Regions from separate parts of the Homo sapiens genome. Here all the other regions are linked to region 2. The links are contacts of gene promoters, found by promoter capture Hi-C in human tissues and cell types (Jung and others, 2019). All regions are on one chromosome and are shown on one strand. The core of a region is centred on a gene start or on the middle of the fragment in contact, and the rest is flanking DNA. Distances in the headings are between cores, read along the strand shown.

What was found. Contacts are between HindIII fragments. The study calls those that stand out against the background at their distance.
Region 1: a contact is called between a fragment that was not itself captured here and the fragment with the promoter of CYTL1 in region 2, in 2 of the 25 tissues and cell types used here (H1 embryonic stem cells and thymus).
Region 3: a contact is called between a fragment that was not itself captured here and the fragment with the promoter of CYTL1 in region 2, in 2 of the 25 tissues and cell types used here (IMR-90 fibroblasts and aorta).

The regions. Positions count from the first base shown.
Region 1 is chr4:5,130,132-5,134,438 of GRCh38, forward strand. All of the region lies in intron 1 of STK32B (serine/threonine kinase 32B), which reads left to right. Among named protein-coding and RNA genes, the nearest start is that of STK32B, 81 kb to the left of the region's middle. RefSeq lists a silencer at 3,131-3,425 and an enhancer at 3,890-4,307. The HindIII fragment of the contact is 4,515 bases long and covers 1-3,725 here.
Region 2 is chr4:5,016,231-5,020,970 of GRCh38, forward strand. It overlaps CYTL1 (cytokine like 1), which reads right to left and starts at 3,228. Exons shown (of 4, transcript NM_018659.3): 1 at 3,063-3,228; 2 at 905-949; 3 at 606-734. The coding sequence starts at 3,215. It also overlaps a transcript of STK32B not described here. The HindIII fragment of the contact is 2,782 bases long and covers 2,500-4,740 here.
Region 3 is chr4:5,109,023-5,113,539 of GRCh38, forward strand. The region is part of intron 1 of STK32B (serine/threonine kinase 32B); the gene reads left to right. Among named protein-coding and RNA genes, the nearest start is that of STK32B, 60 kb to the left of the region's middle. The HindIII fragment of the contact is 4,169 bases long and covers 1-4,064 here.

The sequences.
Region 1 (4,307 bases), core at 218-2,717, 110 kb after region 2:
CAAATAGGGTGGTGAGGGAAGACCTCTCACCTTCTCCGGCGGGGGGAGGCCTGGGGGATGGGAAGGAGTCAGCACTGGGGCACCATGACCAGGCGTTCCAGGCAGAGGGACAGCAGGGCAAAGGCTCTATGATAGTAGAGTGCCTGGGCTGTGAGGCACAGCCAGGAGCCATGGGTGGCTGAAACACACTGTGGTGAGAGCAAGGAGAGTGACGGTGGGGAGGTTTGGCGGGAGGGGTGACTGGGTTCTTCTAGGCCATGGTGAGGAGCATGGATCTTATTTCATGCACAATGCCATGCTACTGAAGAATCCAAACCGGGCTTGGGCTGTCGGCTTTGAGAAGGTAGGCAAAAGGCAAAGAAAGTAATCTCTTGGCCTTGGACCTGTGAACAAACTCAGCACCCTGGAACCAATAGGTTCACACCAAGAGGACACCTTCCTGAGAACTGCAGTGGTCTAATCTGTTGTCCAAAATAACCCCTTTCCAAAACCTGAAGTCCCTGGGAGGCCAAATCAGGCATTGGAGAGCAACTTGGTAAACAAAGGGAGGTGAGGCCGCTTGAGCAATGGTTTTTTAAGGCGCTGCTGAGGCCTGACCCATTCCTGCCTGAGGAAATGTCTACCAATCCAGTGGGTTAATCCTTCCTCCACCCTGCCCCACTCATCCCTTCCACTCATACTTCTGTCTTGCTGTTCCTGGAACTCATCTTGCTATTTCATGCCACTGTTGAAGATTTTCCTGAAATCCTTTCTTCTTCTCATCCCCTGGGAAATTTTTGTTATTCCTCATGTATATGCTCAGTGTCTTGTGCTTTTCAAAACTTTCCCTGATGGTCCCAAGAGGATGGAGTGGATTCTTCTCCCTGACCTTGTGCCTGACTCTGCCGCTGCACCCGTCACCCCCTTTTGATGTCTGCCAGGACCTGGGCATGCCTCTGCTAGGCAGAGGATCCTTGGGAGCAGAGCCATCACATCTGAAGTCCTCTACTCCTATCAGGGAACTCAGAAAATTTGAGGAGAACAGACCTAAATCCAGTAATGAGAATGCCCCTTTCACTGCTTCCCACGTGTGCACAGGCTGCACCAGCACTAAGGGCTTGCTCTGCCTCCCCCTTTTCCAGGCTGATGTCTGACCACTCACCCCATCTTTTCAATCAGCTTTCGTCAGGCAGGCTGAGATCGCTGTACAATCACTGAGATCCTGCTTCCCTAGTTACCGTCATGTGGCAATTTTATCTCCACCTGATTACATCTAAGATGCTTTGATTGAAGTTTGAATATTTCCAAACAGCTTAAACAAACATCAACAGACCATATTTTTCGTTCTCCTCCTCAGAACCCTGTAGTACTTTCTCATCATGTTTGAAAAACTTCCTAGAGCCCTTACCCCAGCCTGTGAAGCCCTGCATGGCCAGCTCATGACCTCTCCTCTGACCCTGGCTTTCCCACTTTCTCTCCTTCCTACACAGCAGTCCAGCCATCCTTGCCTGCCTGCTGCTCCTGGGGACTGTCATGCATGTTTTTTGCCAAGGGCCTTTGCACATGCTGTTCTCTCTGCCTGAAATAACCATCCTCCTCATATCAGCATGGCATCTTCTGTCACTTTATTTATGGATCTGCTCTATTATCCTCTTTTTAGAAAGGCTTGCCCTGACCACCCTGTCTAAAATTGCAGCTCCTGCCCCCAACACAATCACTATCACCTTACCTGATGTAGAAGGAAGAATAACTGCTCCTCAAATATAACTGTGTCTTAAATGTTGGAATCTGTATACATTACATGGCAAAAGGGACTTTTTAGATGAGATTAACTGAAGGATTTGAGATGGGGGAGAGCATCCTGGATTGTACAGGTAGCCTTTAATGTAATCAGAGTCCTCATAAGAGGGAGGCATTTGGTTTTCTGTTCCTGTGTTAGTTTGCATGGGGTAATGGCCTCCAGCTCCATCCATCTTGCTGCAAAGAACATGATCTTCCTCTTTTTATGGCTGTGTAGTATTCCTTGGTGTATATGTACCATATTTTCTTTATCCAGTCTATTGTTGATAGACATTTAGGTTGGTTCTAGGTCTTTGCTATTGTGAATAGTGCTGCAGTGGACATTTGTGTGCATATGTCTTTATAGTATGATTTATATTTCTTTGGGTATCACTTATAAGTGGGAGCTGAACAATAAAAACACATGGACATAAAGAGGGGAACAACAAACACTGGGTGGAGGGAGAGGATCAAAAAGCTACCTATTAGGAACTATGCTTACTACCTGGGTGATGACATAATCTATACACCAATGCCCTGTGACATGCAGTTTACCTAAGTAACAAACCTGAACTTGCACCCGGAACCTAAAATAAAAAATAAATAAAAGGGGATGCATAAGGGTGAGAGAAGATGTGACAACCAAAGCAGAAGTCGCAGTAATATGGGATCACAAGCTGAGGAATGTGACACCTCTGGAAGCTGAAAAGACAAGCAGACAGATTTTCCCCAAGATCTTCCAGAAGAAACACAGTCCTGCTGACAGCAGGATTTCAGCCCAGGGAGACTTCCAGGACTGTAAGATAATAAATTGATATTATTTAACCTACCAAGTATATGGCCATTTGTTATAGCAGCACCTGGAAATTCATACACCTGGATTTACTTTCATTCATAGAATTTACCACTTTTTTTTTTTTTTGGGACAGAGTCTTGCTCTGTTACCCAGGCTGGAGTGGAGTGCAGTCGTGTGATCTTGGCTCACTGCAACCTCTGCCTTCTGGGTTCAGGTGATTCTTCTGCCTCAGCCTCCCAAGTAGCTGGGATTACAGGCATGCACCACCACTCCTGGCTAATTTTTGTATTTTTAGGAGAGATGGGGTTTTGCCATGTTGGCTAGGCTGGCTGGAACCCCTGACCTCAAGTGATCCACCTGCCTCAGCCTCCCACAGTGCTGGGATTACAGGCATGAGCCACTGTACCTGGCCAGAATTTACCACTTTCTGCCATTGAATTGCAGATTTGTCTCCTTGCACCAGAAGGTCAGCTCCCCTGTTGTAGGTTCATTGTGTGTTTTGTTCACTGTTGGTTCCCGGTACGTAGTAGAGGGCCTGGAAGGCAACATATACTCAGTCATCATTTCAACAAGTGTATACCCACTCAGTAAAAATGTATTTATTCTCCCCAAAATATTTTTTGAATGAGTGACTAATGGAAGCTTTTCATGATAGATGCCTGCCACAGCTTGGTCAGCCCCCTTTCTGTGTAAACATCAACAATTTCCTGTAGAGAGGGTGATCTCATTTCCCACTCCCTCAGAGAGCTCCCTACCCATACTCCCACTACTCAATGTAGGTCATTCATTCATGCATATATGTCATTATCTTGAGTGAGTACTTAACACAGCACTACCTGCCTGGCACCTGGATTCAGCAATGAACAAGACTGTGGCTCTTTGTTAAGGGGTCATCTGGTTACCTGGATTATTTCTGTACTAAGGAGAGACAAACTCAGAAATAATCGCCATCATTATATGCTGATTATATAATAGTCTTATTCCAAGAAAAATCTTAGAGAGATGTTAGCTCATTGTACAGATGAAGAAACTGAGATTCTGAGATGTTAAGTGACTAGGTTGAAGGCCCATGGCTGGACCAGGGGATTGGGTGGCCACTCTTCAGTGGCTTCTGTTTACTGAGTTGCCCTTTTGCTACGTCACTGTCTATGGCCGTCATCCTGACTTGGGGATGCAGGCATCACTACCTCCATTTTATTAAATGGAAAATCAAGGCTTGGAAGTTAACTTACGTCCTCAGGTTCACACTGACTCAAATAGTGGGGCTGGGTTTAAAACTTTGTTTAAACCTTTGTCCAGGGAACACCAAACCCTCCTTTTCATCCATGGCCTGACTCTCTCCCCATCAACAGATAGGACCTCTCTCTGCTGCAGCCCAATGACCCATACCTCAGATGCTTACAGAATCAGGCAGGAAACAGAGATGCATAAACTGGGCCAGGTGTGACAGTGGTGAATCAGAGAATATTGTGGAAGGGCATCGCAGGCCCAGATTTTTTTGGCAAATCTTCCAATTTCTTGCGGTTTTAACGTGTTCCCCAAAGTTTATGTGTTGGAAACTAAATTTCTAATGAAACAGTGTTGAGAGGAGAGGCCTAATAAAAGGTGATTAGGCCATGAAATCTCTGCCCTTATGAAGGGACTGCTGTCATTATCATGGGAGTAGATTAGTTATCACAAGAGTGAATTACAAAAGCAAGCTTAGCCCCCTCTTGCTCCTTTGTTATCTTGCGCTCTCCTGCCCTTCCTCTGT
Region 2 (4,740 bases), core at 1,978-4,477:
CCAGCACCATGCTCTTAGACTACCCCCCAGCCTCCTCCATAAGCTAAACAAACATCTTTTTTTAAAAAATAACTGACCCAGTCTGTGGTGTTATGTTATAGCAGCAGAAACAGACTAAGACAGGCACTCCCACTTGGGAAGCAGGGAGATACAGACCCAAGCTCAGGGCTCTCTGATGCTGAAGTCTGTGCCCTGCAATCACATGCCTCTACTTTCCACATTTTAACTATTGCTGATTTTCTGTCCTTTTACCCTCTCCTACCGGAATCCTCTTATCAGAGCACACCTGAACCTCCTCCTGCAGAGTCTCCTCTACCCTGCCTCACTTGGCTCCTGGCAGAGTCTATCTATGTGGCTGGGGTGTGGTCCTGGGGTGTAGCCCCTGCATCAATGCGCAGCTCATGGAGACAAAGGGCCTTGTCCTGAACCCCATCACCCAACAAGGCAACCATGGTTGAGAAAGGGCTTTGTGAACTGAAAGCATCTGCGAAACATCTCTGCTCCTCTTCCTTGTCACCATCTCCTCCCAACTCTCCTCTTTGAAAAGCTCAGAAAGTCTTGGCTGATAGCAAGTAGAAAATAGACTTTCAATGGCATCCACTTACTCTCCTGCAGAACGAGTTCATGATGGTGTACAGCTTCCGTGCTTTGTCCTTCAAGGAATCTACCTGGGCCACTTTCCAACACGGGGGCGAGGCCACAAAGTCCCGCAGCTTGTCCAGCACACAGTAATTCTGGGAGTGGGCAATGGGGAGGGGGCTTGTGGGAGAAGTCAGTAGCAAGAGGAACAGGGACTGAGCTGCATAAGATCTCTCCCTGACTCTGTGCCACACAGCCAGCAGCAGAGGTTCAGACCTGAGTCCCTCAGCCCAAGACCTCCCTCCCCCAGGGAGAACCCTCTTACGTGTATGTCCAGGTACAGCCTGGGCAGGTATCTCACACATGGCTCCTGTGGAAAGGGATAAGGGGTTCTGGGATGCCCACAGGGGCATACCTGGTCACAAAAGTCTCCCTAGTGGCCCTCTCAACAGCCAGACCAGCCCAGATCCCTGGGGCCCTCCCTGATGCTACGACATGCACAGTACTTTCTTGTGTCATACGTCACACTCCTCCAGAAATGGGCGACTGCGCTTCCGGAATTAGACTTTTAGAATACAACTTTTATATCATTTGCTATGAACCAGGGAGCTGTTTTATATGCATACCCATTCAGAAATATACATACACGTATATACATAAAAGCAGTCCTATAACTGTAATATAGAAATAGTGATATATAATACAGTAATACAAGTATACATACAGAGTATATATGTACATCTATAAAACAGTTCTATAACTATTTAGTTATATAACAGTTGTATAAGTTAGTTATATAGTAACTTATATAATAATATACTTATATAATAACTTATATAAGTATATTAGCTATATAACAGTTGTATAACTGCATGTAATTATAGACATTATATATACTTACATAAGTACGATATATGTAATAATACCTATTGTTCTATAGGCATTCTATAGCTAATATGTAGTTGTATATAGTGTATAATATAGTAATATCGAAGTGCATAAATTTGCATACTTTTATATTTCTATATTGGGCTTCCGTTTTTGCGCAGGGCTGAAGGGCAAAAGCCCTCGTGCTCTGCCCTCTCAGTAATCCCCGTGTGACCATGGGCAAGTGCCTTCCTTCAGTCCTCAGTTGTGAAATTAGAGATTTAGAATGCATAATCTTTCCACTTTCTTCCCGCTCTGTGGTTCAGAGCCTCTGAACTTTTTAAACCTTTTAAAATCAGATTCCTTTAAAAGATGATTGCTGTCTATATTCGATAACAAGAAACTTGTGGGTAAATTGTGGTGAAACTGTACAACAAAATGTTAAAACAAAAATGAACTTATTTGATAGTGTCATTAAAAAGTAAGTTGCAAAACTGCTTGTGCTGTTTGACCCAAATTTTGTTTACACACACACACACACACAACACACACGTATTTGAATACCTATATGTAGACAGAAAGCTGAAATATGATCCTCCACAATGCTACGGCAGCAGCTACCTCTAGGTGGTAGAATTACAAGCAAGATTTTTTTTCTTCTTTGTACTTTATTTTCCAACTGTTCTACAAAGTACAATACTTTTATAATTAGGGAAAAAATACATGTTATTTAACTTTTAAAAAGAAAATACCAAGAAGGTGTTAGCTAGGCTTTTGTAAACCCCAACATCTGAGAAACATTATGTTTTGTTTGAAGCATTTGCAAGTGATTAAAAGACACTTTGAAACTTTACAAAAGCTTTTAATGAAGTTTAATGCATTTTGTTTCGACGGAGAAGCAGGCAGAGGCCTGGGTTCTAGTCCCCAAAAGCCCTCCCGGGTCTTCCCCTCTCTGAGTCCCCAGATCTGCCTCTGAAGATCGTGCTCACATCAGCTGGCATCTGTTGAGTACTTGTTCCTGTAGGCTTGGCTCTGTGAGCCCTGCCTGTGTTCACACCTGCCTTTGATCGTCAAAGCCACTCTAAAGGGAGGGGTGCTACTGTCATCCCATTTTACAGACAAGAAAACTGAAAGGCAGAGGCTGAGAAATTTGCCCGGGTCCCTCAGCAGATGAGGGGCGGAGGCCAGTTCTGTGAGCCACCTCTTAGGGCACACTCCTCACTAGGCTAACAAAAGCAATACACAAGCTTCATTCCTCCGTCCTCCTTAACTCTGATGGGGAGCTGTTTTTCTCCCCATCCTCCCACTCCTTTTTTTTTCTTTTTTCTTTTTTTTTTTTTTTTTTTTTTTTACATTTTACAACAGATCCTTTGATATTTGCTAGTAAGTCACAAAAATTGTGTTGTCTTTACTTTTTCTTGTGTTTTGAAGAAAGCAAACCATTGGTATCATATTTAAAAGGAGATGAATAAAACACAAATACTCCTGAGATTTACATTTACTAGAAAAGAAAAATATCCTTTTCTCTCTCTCTCTCTTTTTTTTTTCGTGTAAAGGCAAGGGTTTAAGAACTGGGTCTGCCATGCACCCCTGTCCTGAGCGGGCGGGGGACTCACCGAGGGCTCCGAGACCTGCAGGAGGTTGAAGTCGCGGGTGATCTCCTGGCTCAGGGCCCGCATGCGGGAGTAGCAGGTCGGGGGAGTGGGCCGCGCGGCGGGGGCTCCCGCCAGGAGCAGCAGCAGCACGGGCAGAGGCCCAGGCGTCCTCATGGTGCCAGGCGCTGGTGCAGCCTCGCCGACCGCCCCTTTATGCAGGCTGGGGGTGGTCCAGGGCGGCTCCACGCCTCCACTTCCTGTGGGGCCAGCGCAGGCTGCGGTCCATCCAGGGTGGCAGAGAGGAAGCCAGCACGCCCACCGGGCAGGGTCGGGACAGGAATCCTCTCAGACACGAAAGCCCCAGGTTAAGAGGAGGGGCTGCCTGGAGGAGGGGGTGACAGAGGGTGGCTTTGCCTCCCCCACACTTTCAGCAAGAAATTTCTTTCTGCACAGGGACTTTTCCTGAAAAGGCAGGAACAGCAGATGGAGAGGGGTGGGGGATAAGAGGAGGACAGAGATGGAAGGAGGGGAGGGTCAGAGGAGAGGAGTGGGCAGTCAGGCCTGGGTTTGGATGGCACGGTTTGTCAAAATGGATATAGTGCCAGGAGGGAAAGGGACTAGCAGGGGATGACTGAGCATCCCTCCCTCCAGGCAGCCCGCAGTGGAGCAGGGATGCAGAGCTGCGGTCAGGCCACCGGTGTCCTCGTCCATCAATCGCTAACCAGGTAGGTGAGCCTTGGGCCAGGGCCCCCAGCCTCTCAGAAGCCGTGTGTGTCTCTCGGTCCGGAGGATGGGCTCACTGAGCGGCCGTATGTGTGGGGAGTGTGAGTACCCCCACCCTCTTCTACCTCAAGCTCCCAGCACAGGCCCCGAGGGAGAGCAGACCCTCAGGAAGGGTTAGTTTTCAAGAAGTGCATCTCCCTCAGGGCTAACTTCCCAAGACAGTGGCAGGTAAAGGTCTAGGCTCTCCACTTAGACGCCGTGGGTGCAAAGCAGGGTCACCGCCTTCTGGCTTTGACCTTGGGCAAGTTTCTTCAGTGTTTCCTCCATCTCCTTATCTGTGAGATGAGGCTGGTGAGAGTGGCTCACTCAAAAGGCCATAGTGAGGAATCAACAGGATATAGCATGACTGAGCAAGCCTCATGCCAGGCCCATTGTGTGTTTCCAAGTGATCGGAGCTAATAGCACTGTCTCTGTTAAATCCAGCAATTGTCTCTGTGAGGTAGGTGCCACAGAAAAGAGTCCCATTTTCCAGGTGGGAAAACTGAGGCTCAAGAGTTCCAGCAACTTGCTGGAGGTCACAAAGCTGGAGGCACATGGGTTGGGATGAGACTTCAGGCCCTGTCCTCCTGCCATTCTTCCATCCCACAGGGCAGGATGGGTGAGGAGCAGGACTCTTGCAGGCAGAGATGAGTTGGGGTCCTCAGGCTGCCCAAGATCAGGCAACAAGCAAGAAGGAACTGTCAAAAGGGAGAAGATTCTTCCTTAACACTGAACATGACTTACATACCAGCAGCCACCAGGCCAGCTGCCATTGGGAACGCTATGACCCTCACAGCCAGCCAATGAAGTGAATGGGGTTATTCCCAATTCCCAGGCGAGGAAACTGAGGGCCTCGGGGGATGTGAAGCTGGGAAGAGCAGTGGAGCCCTGGAGCTATGTCTGGACTTTCCTGCCTCCAAAGCTTCCTCCAACAAAG
Region 3 (4,517 bases), core at 730-3,229, 92 kb after region 2:
GAGGATTTTTCTCTCTGCTTCTTAATTGCCATGGTCTCCCCAGCTTCCTTGTCCAGTTAATGCAGACTAAAGCCACATTCTTATCCAGAGCCTTGTCCAGCAACAAAACTATGTGCTTTATTATCCTGTGAGCCCTGACATCTCAGAATCTCAGGATACAAGACCCAGAAGCAACTTTCCAGGTGTCATGCGCAGCTGCCTCATTTTTCTAATGAGAAAACTGACTTAAGAGAAGGGGAAGGCAAATGGCCAGGGCTAGTTATTCATTCATTCATTCATGTATTCATCCAATATTTATTGAACAACTATTTTATGATAGTCACAAAGGACACACACATGGACGAATGCTCTTGCTGAAGACAGACAGTGGAGCTAACAAATGAATACATAAAAATTAGCAAATATGATATGTACTAGGAAAGAAAAATACAGAATGCTGTGATAGAAAATGATAGGCATGTCCACATGAACAGAATTAGGAGCAAGGACCGTGTGATCATCTCAGTAGATGCAGAAAAAGCAGATTGATAAAAAGCTGGATTTTATAAAATCCAGCAGTCCTCCATGATAAGAGCCCTCAACAGGCTAGACATAGATGGAACATAACTCAGGATAATGGGAGCCATGTATGGCAAAGCCACAGCCAGCATCATGTTGAATGAGGAAAAGTTGAAAGCATTTTCCCTATAATCTGGAATAAGACAAGTTCCACTATTCAACATAGTACTAACAGTCCTAGCCAGAGCAATCAGGCAGGAGAGAGAGATAAAAGGTATCCAAATTGGAAAAGATGAAGTCAAATTATCTCAGTTCTCTGACAACATGATCATATACCTCGAAAACCTTGAAGACTCCTCTAGAAGACTCCTAAACCTGATTAGCAACTTCAGTAAAGTCTCAGGATACAAAATTAATGTATGAAAATCAGTAGCCCATTTCTGTATATCAATAACATTCATACCGAGAACCAATCCCGTTTACAATAGCCACAGAAAAAAAAAACCTGGGAATACATTTAATCAAGGAGGTGAAAGAGCTCTATAAGGAGAACTACAAAACACTGATGAAAGAAATTGTAGACAATGCAAACAAATGGAAAAACATCCTATGCTCATGAATTGGAAGGATCAATATCATTAAAATGACCATATAGCTCAAAGTGATATACACATGAAATGCAGCTCCTATTAAATTACCAATGTCATTTTTCACAAAATTAGAAAAAAAAATCCTAAAATTCATATGGAACCAAAAAAAAAAAAAAAAAAGCGCAAATGACCAAAGCACTCCTGAGCAAAATGAACAAATCTAGAGACATCACATTGCTTGATTTCAAATTATACTACCAGGCCATGGTAACTAAAACATCATGGTACTGGCACAAAGATAGACACATGTATCAATGGAATGGAGAACTCAGAAATAAAGCCACATACCTGCAACCAACTTGTCTTGGGCAAAGTTGACAAAAATAAAAAATGGGAAAAAGACATCCTATTCAATAAATGGTGCTGGGAAAACTGGCTGACCATTAAGTGGAAGAGAGAGGCTGGACCCCTATCTCTTACCATATACAAAAGTTAACTCAACATGGATTAAAGACCTAAATGTAAGACCTGAAACTATATTAAGTCCTAGAAGAAAACCTAGGGAAATGCTCTTCTGGACATCAGCCTAGGCAAATAATTTATGACAAAGACCTCAAAAGTAAATGTGACAAAACAAAAAAATAGACAAATGGGACTTAATTAAACTAAAAAGCTTATGCATAGCAAAAGAAATAATCAACAGAATAAACAGACAGCCTACAGAATGGGAGAAAATATTTACAAGTTATGCCCTCAACAAAGGATTAATATCCAGAATCTATAAGGAACTCAAGCAACTCAAGAGGAATAAAATAAACAACACCATTAAAAGCTGGGCAAAAGACATGAAAATACATTTTTGAAAAAAAAAAGAAATATAAGCTTCCACAAACACATAAAAATGCTTAACATCACCAATCATCAGAGAAATACAAATTAAGACCACATTGAGATATCATCTTACATCAGTCAGCATGGCTTTTATTAAAAAGTCAAAAACAACAGATGTTGATGTGGACGTGGAGAAAGGCAAATGCTCATACACTGTTGATGGGAATTCAAATTAGTTCAGCCCTTATGGGAAACAGTATAAAGATTTCTCAAAGAACTAAAAAGAGAATGACCATTTGACTCAACAACTCCACTACTGGGTATCTGCTCAAAGGAAAATAAATTATTACACAAAAAAGACACCTGCACTTGTATGTTTAGTGCAACACTATTTATAATAGCAGAGTCACAGAACCAATCTAAGTGTCCATCAGCAGTTAATCAGATAAAGAAATTGTGGTGTGTGTGTGTGCAATGGAATAGTATACAGCCATAAAAAGGAAAACATCGTGTCCTTTGCAGCCACATAGATGGAGCTGGAGGCTGTTATCCTAAGTGAACTAACACAGAAACAGAAAATTAAATATTACATGTTCTCACTTATAAGTGGGAGCTAAATGAAGGCTACACATGGACATAAAGATGGAGAGAATAGACTCTGGAGACTTCAAAAGGGGTTGGGAAGGGTTGAAAAATTATCTATTGGGTAGAACATCCAATATATGGATGATGGGTACACTAGAAGCCCAACCCCTGTCATTATGCGTCTGATACCCATGTAACAAACAAACACATGTACCCCTGAATCTAAAATTAAAAATAAAGAAAACGATGTGTATGGACCTCCTTGATGATTCTATCTCAGTTTGGGTTTCCTTACAAGCAGATTCTGAGACAAGGATCCATGTGCAAATAGCTTGTTTAAGATGTGGTCCCAGGAAACAGGCAGGAAGAGAAGTGAGACAGGGAAGGGAAAGCAGCAAATAAAGGAGATTTCATCATGCAGGTACCACTGTGGGCATGTGCACACTTTAGTAAGCAGTGCATAACATGTCTTAAAATCATCCTACCCTTTGTTTAAGAGACTTGGGATATTGGCCCACCCATGCCCATCAGTCACCAGGTAAGAGCTGCTCTCAGAGTACTTTAATCCCAGACATTTCTCACCTGCTGTGCAGGGCAGAAGGGGTTCTCACTACAAGAGAATGCCCTACAGCAAAGAGAAGCAGGTGCTTGCAGTCTGTGGATTGAAACAGTAAGGATAGAGGGGAGATGGGTGGGGGTGTCTGCTGTGAGATTGTATTTGTCAGCATTCTCCAGAGAAACAGAGTCAATAGAATGTAGATCTATATAAAAAGAGATTTATTATAAGGAATTGATTCATGTATTCAGGAGACTAAGACATCCCAAGGTCTGCAGTTGGCAAGTTGGAGAGCCAGGAGAGCTGCTGGAGTAGGTCCAATCTGAAAGCCTACAGGCTCGAGACCCAAGAAGAGCTGACATTTCAAAGCTGAGTCCAAAGAGGGCTGATGTCCTGGCTCAAGGCAGTCAGGCAGGAGGAGTTCCCTTCTACTAGAGGAAGGGTCAGCCTTTAGTTCTCTTCAGACCTTTAGCTGATTGGAAGAGGGCCACCCACATAGGGAGTCAGTCTGCCAATTCAAATGTTAATCTCATTTCCAAACACCTTCACTGACACACTCAAGATAATGTTTGATGAAATATCTGGGCACCCCATGTCGCAGTCAAATGGACATGCAAATGAACCATCACAAAGCTAGTACAAGAAAGCTTCTCTGTGGAGGAAAAATCTAAGCTGAGATTGGAAAAATGAACCACAGTGGTTTCACAAAGAGCTGGTGAAGAACATTTCCAAAGAAGGGAAGAGAAGAGCTTGGCTTGCTGTGGGGGTTGACAGATGAATGTGACTGATCAAAGTGAACAAGATTCATGTATTCAAAAGATATTATTGAATACTGACACTGTGCCAGACACTGGGGATAAGAGAATGAGCCAAACAGGCAAATATGCTACTTCTTAAGGGAAGAGACTGACAATAACCAAAGAAGGAAAATGTATAGTAGATGAGATGGAGCCTCTGTCAGCTGGGGTCCTGAGTGCTGTCATCTGGATGTCTGTATTCCCCCAAAATTCTTACATTGAAACCTAATCCCCAATGTGATGGTGTTAGGAGGTGGGGGCCTTTGAGAGGTGATCAGATCTTGAGGGTGGAAACCTCACGAATGGGATTAGTGTCCTTATAAGAGAGGCCCTGTACAGACCCCTCGTCTCTTTCACCATGTGAGGACACAGCAAGAAGATGGCTATCTATGAACCAGGAAGCAAGCCCTCACAAGACGTTGAATCTGCCATGCCTTGATCTTGGATTCCCCAGCCTCTAGACTGTGAGAAATAAACTTCTGTTGTTTATAAGCCACCCAGTCTATGATATTTTGTTATAGCAGTGCAAATAGACCAAGACACCGTGTGAATGCAGCACACAAAGCTTCTTGCTGATCTGTGTGGACATGTAGTATGGGTAAAGAATAAGTACTTCGTGTTATAAGCTATTAAGGTTTTGGGTTTGTTTATTACAGAGCA